Regions from separate parts of the Homo sapiens genome. Here region 1 is linked to region 2. The links are contacts of gene promoters, found by promoter capture Hi-C in human tissues and cell types (Jung and others, 2019). All regions are on one chromosome and are shown on one strand. The core of a region is centred on a gene start or on the middle of the fragment in contact, and the rest is flanking DNA. Distances in the headings are between cores, read along the strand shown.

The links. Contacts are between HindIII fragments. The study calls those that stand out against the background at their distance.
Region 1: a contact is called between the fragment with the promoter of GPR42 here and the fragment with the promoter of TMEM147 in region 2, in 2 of the 25 tissues and cell types used here (H1 embryonic stem cells and lymphoblastoid cells).

The regions. Positions count from the first base shown.
Region 1 is chr19:35,369,427-35,372,816 of GRCh38, forward strand. GPR42 (G protein-coupled receptor 42) reads left to right here and starts at 1,642. Exons shown (of 2, transcript NM_001348195.2): 1 at 1,642-1,692; 2 at 1,923-3,390. The coding sequence starts at 1,934. The coding sequence ends at 2,974. The HindIII fragment of the contact is 14,423 bases long and covers 1-3,390 here.
Region 2 is chr19:35,543,346-35,546,875 of GRCh38, forward strand. It overlaps TMEM147 (transmembrane protein 147), which reads left to right and starts at 2,281. Exons shown (of 7, transcript NM_032635.4): 1 at 2,281-2,471; 2 at 2,543-2,612; 3 at 3,181-3,240; 4 at 3,327-3,463. The coding sequence starts at 2,395. GAPDHS (glyceraldehyde-3-phosphate dehydrogenase, spermatogenic) reads left to right here. Exons shown (of 11, transcript NM_014364.5): 8 at 1-146; 9 at 320-482; 10 at 1,564-1,661; 11 at 1,753-1,974. The coding sequence ends at 1,825. It overlaps TMEM147-AS1 (TMEM147 antisense RNA 1), which reads right to left and starts at 2,684. Exons shown (of 4, transcript NR_038396.1): 1 at 2,592-2,684. RefSeq lists enhancers at 1-183, 1,898-2,590 and a silencer at 2,283-2,862. The HindIII fragment of the contact is 10,627 bases long and covers 1-3,530 here.

The DNA of each region.
Region 1 (3,390 bases), core at 392-2,891, 170 kb before region 2:
AACATCGAAGGAACACACCTCAAAATAATAAGAGCCATCCAGGACAAACTCACAGCCAACATCATACTGAATGGGCAAACGTTGGAAGCATTCCCCCTAAGAAATGGAAAAAGACAGGGATGCCTACTCCCACTACTCCTATTCAACATAGTAGTGGAAGTCCTAGCCAGAGCAATCAGGCAAGAAAAAGGAATAAAAGGCATCCAAATAGAAAGGGGAAGTCAAATTATCTCTGTTCACTGATGATATGATTCTATACCTAGAAAACCCTACAGATTCCTCCAAAATACTCCTAGACCTGATAAATGACTGGCAGTTTCAGGATGCAAAATCAGTGTATAAAAATCAGTAGCATTACTATATACCAACAATTGTCAAGCTGTGAGCCAAATAAAGAACAGAATCCCAATTACAATAGCCACACACAAAAATAAAATACCTAGGAATACATCTAACCAAGGAAGTGAAAGTGAAAGATCTCTACAAGGAGAACTAAAAAACACAAATAAATGAAAAACATTCCATGTTCATGGATTAGAAGAATCAATATCATTAAAATGTCCATACTGCTCAAAGCAATCTACAGATTCCACCCAATTCCTACCAAATTATCAATGTCATTTTTCATAAAATGGAATCATTCTACCAAAAAGACACCTGCATGTGTATGTTTGTCACAGCACTATTCACAATGGCAAAGTGATGGAATCAACTTAGGTGCCCATCAATGGTGGACTAGATAAAGAAAAAATGGTACATACACATCACGAAATACTATGCAGCTATAAAAAAGAATGAAATCATGTCCTTTGCTGCAACATAAATGCAGCTGGAGGCCTAAGTGAATGATCCTAAGTGAATTAACACAGAAACAGAAAATCAAATGCTGTATGTTCTCACTTTTAAGTGGGAGGTAAACAATGGGTACACGCAAACATTAAAGATGGAAACCATAGACAGTGGGGACTCCAAAGTGGGGGAGGGAGGGCGGAGGACAAGGGTGGGAAAACTGCCTATTGGGTACTATGTTCACAATTTTGGTAATGGGTTCAATAGAAGCCCAAACCTCAGTATTATGCAATATACCCATGTAACAAACCTGCACATGTGCTCCCGAATCTAAAATAAATATTTTCAAAAAGCAATTGACCTATATTATTAACATTTTAATCTACCTGTATATATGTTTTAATCTGCATGTGTTCATGCTTTGAAATATGGTACAGGTACTATGACAATCCCTGTTCTGTAGGGGAGGAAGAAGAGACACATCTCTTCCCCCACATCACAAAGTCAGGAAGGAACAGACCTCACGGAGTCCAGTCTGTCACTGGCTCATGCTTTGTGCCCTTAAAAGGCAAACTGGATAAGTGCCATTCTAGAGAATCAGACAAAATTCAAGTGGAAGAGAGGGGAGGGGAAGAAGACGTCAGCTGGGGCCTGTTTGGAGCATCCCAGCTGAGGCTGCGCAAGGAGGGAGGCACGCAGTTGTGGAATTTGTTCCCCTTTTTGCATACTGACCAGCCCTGGCAACGGAGCTCAAGGCATCTTTGTGCCACTGCTCAACAGTGAGTGATGTCATGGGCACGGCCAGGTCTTTATCAGTTCTGCCGGATAAATAGCCAACTGCACTAGGTCTGGAGAGACAGCAAGGTGCTGTGCGGCAGAGCATTTGGGGTCTCAAAGAAGCAGGTGAGCCTGGGCCCGAGGGGCTGGGTGGAGGAGCACCTTGGTGCTTCTCTGCTGGGGAAGGGACAGGGGACAGGGCATGCTCAGGAAGACAGGCAGGCTGACCCCGCCTGGAAGGCACCCAGAGACAAGAGGGGTGGGCGTAGTGACCTCGTGCCCTTTTAGGGGAGATGCTGCTGGCCAGAGGCCGTTAGGGCCCCCACTACCAACTCCATGTTACTCTCTCTCACCAGTGGCCACCACCATGGATACAGGCCCCGACCAGTCCTACTTCTCCGGCAATCACTGGTTCGTCTTCTCGGTGTACCTTCTCACTTTCCTGGTGGGGCTCCCCCTCAACCTGCTGGCCCTGGTGGTCTTCGTGGGCAAGCTGCGGTGCCGCCCGGTGGCCGTGGACGTGCTCCTGCTCAACCTGACCGCCTCGGACCTGCTCCTGCTGCTGTTCCTGCCTTTCCGCATGGTGGAGGCAGCCAATGGCATGCACTGGCCCCTGCCCTTCATCCTCTGCCCACTCTCTGGATTCATCTTCTTCACCACCATCTATCTCACCGCCCTCTTCCTGGCAGCTGTGAGCATTGAACGCTTCCTGAGTGTGGCCCACCCACTGTGGTACAAGACCCGGCCGAGGCTGGGGCAGGCAGGTCTGGTGAGTGTGGCCTGCTGGCTGTTGGCCTCTGCTCACTGCAGCGTGGTCTACGTCATAGAATTCTCAGGGGACATCTCCCACAGCCAGGGCACCAATGGGACCTGCTACCTGGAGTTCTGGAAGGACCAGCTAGCCATCCTCCTGCCCGTGCGGCTGGAGATGGCTGTGGTCCTCTTTGTGGTCCCGCTGATCATCACCAGCTACTGCTACAGCCGCCTGGTGTGGATCCTCGGCAGAGGGGGCAGCCACCGCCGGCAGAGGAGGGTGGCGGGGCTGGTGGCGGCCACGCTGCTCAACTTCCTTGTCTGCTTTGGGCCCTACAACGTGTCCCATGTCGTGGGCTATATCTGCGGTGAAAGCCCGGTGTGGAGGATCTACGTGACGCTTCTCAGCACCCTGAACTCCTGTGTCGACCCCTTTGTCTACTACTTCTCCTCCTCCGGGTTCCAAGCCGACTTTCATGAGCTGCTGAGGAGGTTGTGTGGGCTCTGGGGCCAGTGGCAGCAGGAGAGCAGCATGGAGCTGAAGGAGCAGAAGGGAGGGGAGGAGCAGAGAGCGGACCGACCAGCTGAAAGAAAGACCAGTGAACACTCACAGGGCTGTGGAACTGGTGGCCAGGTGGCCTGTGCTGAAAACTAGGTCCTCCGGGGGAGGAGGGTGTAGCTGGCGTGTCATCCTCAGGGCGCTTCCTCGCTCACGCCAGGAGGGACTTGGAGTGGCGAGCTGGGGCCCGATGGGGCTTGGGGGCAGAGTAGACATCTAGCCTCCCTAAGGGTATGCGCGCTAAAGCCCAGCTCTCGATCTCACCTCCATCCCCATCCACCCACACACTATGGATTGGGCTCTGGGAAGGGGTCAGGGTGAGAGGCTGCTCTGGAGAACAATGAGGTCCTCATAGCAGCAGGCAGCTCCTGTGTTTTCTTGAGGGTGGCAGAGGAGCTAAGAGCAGTGCCCAGGTCTGAGGGGGCTGCCCAGTGAGTGGCAGGGGCAGGAGAGGGGAGAACCCCATCCTCAGAGCTGCTCCCAGCCAGCGAGTCAGGAGCGGGGGAGACAGG
Region 2 (3,530 bases), core at 1,031-3,530:
GTCCATTCCTACACGGCCACCCAGAAGACAGTGGACGGGCCATCAAGGAAGGCCTGGCGAGATGGGCGGGGTGCCCACCAGAACATCATCCCAGCCTCCACTGGGGCTGCGAAAGCTGTGACCAAAGTCATCCCAGAGCTCAAAGGGTATGAGGACAAGAAGCTGCAACCAGGGTGGGGGCATACGCCAGGAGGACTGGACTGGCCCGGCCCTCAGTCCTTAAGAGGAAAGCAGGGGCCTGGCCCAGCCACAGGGAAAGGGGGAATGGAGGGCAACGTCCCTAAGTTCTGACTCCTGTTCCTCATGGGGGATTCTCCAGGAAGCTGACAGGGATGGCGTTCCGGGTACCAACCCCGGATGTGTCTGTCGTGGACCTGACCTGCCGCCTCGCCCAGCCTGCCCCCTACTCAGCCATCAAGGAGGCTGTAAAAGCAGCAGCCAAGGGGCCCATGGCTGGCATCCTTGCCTACACCGAGGATGAGGTAGGGGCTGAGGAGAGGAGACCCTGGGAGGAGCCCTCTGGGAAGGGACATGATTTCCACTTGCCAGGGAGCTGCTCTCAATGTGCCAAGTCAGAAACTGCAGGGCAGGAAGGGAGATCTCCCTGCCTCAGGGCCTTTGCACTTGCTGTTCCTTTAGTCTGGAATGCTTCCCTTGCCAGGTGACCATACAGTCTGTCCTTACTTCCTCCAAGTCTCTGGAGGAACCTCCCTCTTCAGCAAGGCACCCCCTCAAAATATGTTCTTTTTGTGGCCATATTCCTCACCTGAAATTTCATTTCATAGTCACTGTTGGCCCCAGTGGTGTGTGCACTCCAAGAAAACAGGGATTTAGGGGCTGCCTTTTCACTTTTGTGGCTCCAACCTGGCATACAGCAGGTGACTAATACATGCTTAGTGAACAAAAGACAACAGCTCCCATTTTTTTCAATACTTGCTCAGGGCCAGGCCATGGCCAGATGCCTTCTCTGTGAGGAGTGGATGCCATGGTCATGGTGGACCCCTGTACATCCACCTTGGTGCTGTCTCCCTGCATTAACTCCTGCAGGTCCACTTTCCCACAGTCACTGGGATCTTTTGTTTTAATGGAATCACATTGCATCACCCGTTTTCAGGATTGAAAACACTCCTGTGGCCTTTCATGACACTAGGGCTAAAACCCTCAGGTCCTCCCTTCCTGCAGCTCCTTCTACCTCAGACACTGTGCTGAGGGCCCCAGCCGGTCAGATCTTTCTAGTCATCTAGACCCAGGCTCATGGCCACCCCTCAGAGAGGCCCTCCATGCTGGCCCATTCCAAACGCTTGCATTATTCCTAGGAAAGGGATGTACTGGTACAGCATGAGGGTGTTTGTGACCTGTGCCCTTTGGCCAGACCCTGACACAGTGCCTTGGTCATACCCTGCACTTGGTCATACCCTCCAGTCCAGAGACTGGACACAGTAGGGCTACATCAAATATTATAGATGAATGCATGGATGGGCGATAGAGTTAAGAGTCGGGGCCTCAGCTCCTGGAGGTCCTTGCTCTGCCGGACACACTTATCTTTGAAATTCTGACTTCCAGGTCGTCTCTACGGACTTCCTCGGTGATACCCACTCGTCCATCTTCGATGCTAAGGCCGGCATTGCGCTCAATGACAATTTCGTGAAGCTCATTTCATGGTAAGGGGGAAGGAGCTGGAGACTTAGAGGGAGGGGAACTAAGGGGTGGTCGGAAGGAACCCCCTTGAACCTCCCGACCCCTCCTCCACAGGTACGACAACGAATATGGCTACAGTCACCGGGTGGTCGACCTCCTCCGCTACATGTTCAGCCGAGACAAGTGAAACGGGAAGGTCCTTTCTTTCCTTCCCAGGGGCCGGGGCCGGAACATGTGCCTCCCGTTCCAGCATCTGGCTGCCCGGGGGAGGAAGGACACCCGGGGCGGGCGCCCCACGCCGATGGGTCCATGGTGAAATAAAAAACAGTGCTCACGGCTGCGTCCCGTATCTCTGCGCCGGTCAGGGCGGGTTCTGATCCGGGTTTGAGGCCCGCCCCACCCTTACTCGATCGCCTGCGCCCACGGGCGAGGGGTCGCGCTCGACTCCAAGCCGGGTTCCACTTCAGGAGACCGGGACCGCGATGGCAGCGGTAGAGGCCCCGCATGGCCGGAAGTCACTCCCCAAAGCGCTGGGCCGGCAGCGGTGGGACCCAGGGCCGGCCACGGGCTCTCTGACGTCACTGGGCGCGACGCCCCGCGCCGGGACTACTGCTCCCAGAAGGTCGCGCGCGGGCCCCCGCCAGTCAGGTGGGTGCCAGGCCCTGGCCGTGGCGAAAGAGCCGGCGGAGCCGGAGACCCGCTCCCGGAGACGCCGCCTCGCGATCCCCGCGCGGGCGGGACCGGGCGGCCGGCATCATGACCCTGTTTCACTTCGGGAACTGCTTCGCTCTTGCCTACTTCCCCTACTTCATCACCTACAAGTGCAGCGGCCTGTGAGTGCGGGAAGGGCGCGGGGCGGAGAGGGCGCGGGGCCCGGGCCGACCCTCACCTCCCGCTTCTCCAGGTCCGAGTACAACGCCTTCTGGAAATGCGTCCAGGCTGGAGTCACCTACCTCTTTGTCCAACTCTGCAAGGTGAGGGCCACCGGGAAGCCACGTGTTCTGGCCCCCAGGCTCTGCAGACCCAGGGACCCGCCCCCGTTGCCTATCCGCGCCCCCGCCGCCCCACGGTGGGACCGCCCTCGGGACTCCGCACTGGGAGGCGTCAGGATACCTAGAGAGGATGGACTTTAAAGAGGGCACGACCTGAGAAGAGACCTAGAAGCAACTTTTGCGTAGCACTTAGTAAAACTGAGAAAACCTCAGTAGTGTGGTTGGCTAACAGGTTTTTTTTGGTGCGGTTAAGAGTGATCACTGATTCCGTACGTGCTGCTAACACTGCCCAAGGAGCAGCACCTTCAGACCTGACTCAGATGCCCTGTGATCACCCAGAACTCAAACTTCCAGCCCCCTCGGGGACCCGGGGACCTATCCTCTATCTCCCCGATTCCTGTAATTTTGCCACCATCTGGTGGTTCCTCTTCCAGATGGGCCCCCAGAACCTGTCCTGCCCTCTTCCTACCCACGAACTTCCCACAAATCCCACGTGGTTTATCTTGATCCCCTCACCTTGAAGTGACCTCTTTCTGCTTTCTGTTCTCAGATGCTGTTCTTGGCCACTTTCTTTCCCACCTGGGAAGGCGGCATCTATGACTTCATTGGGGTGAGAGGGGCCAGGGAAGGGAAGGGAGTTCAGGAATGGGGCTCCCTGTCCCCCTGTGCTTACTTAAGCCTCAACCTGACCCGCAGGAGTTCATGAAGGCCAGCGTGGATGTGGCAGACCTGATAGGTCTAAACCTTGTCATGTCCCGGAATGCCGGCAAGGGAGAGTACAAGATCATGGTTGCTGCCCTGGGCTGGGCCACTGCTGAGCTTATTATGTCCCGGTGCGTACAGCAGCCTGGAGCCCAGACCCCTGAGAAGGGACACCTGGGTTCCACGGGGGTGCTGGAG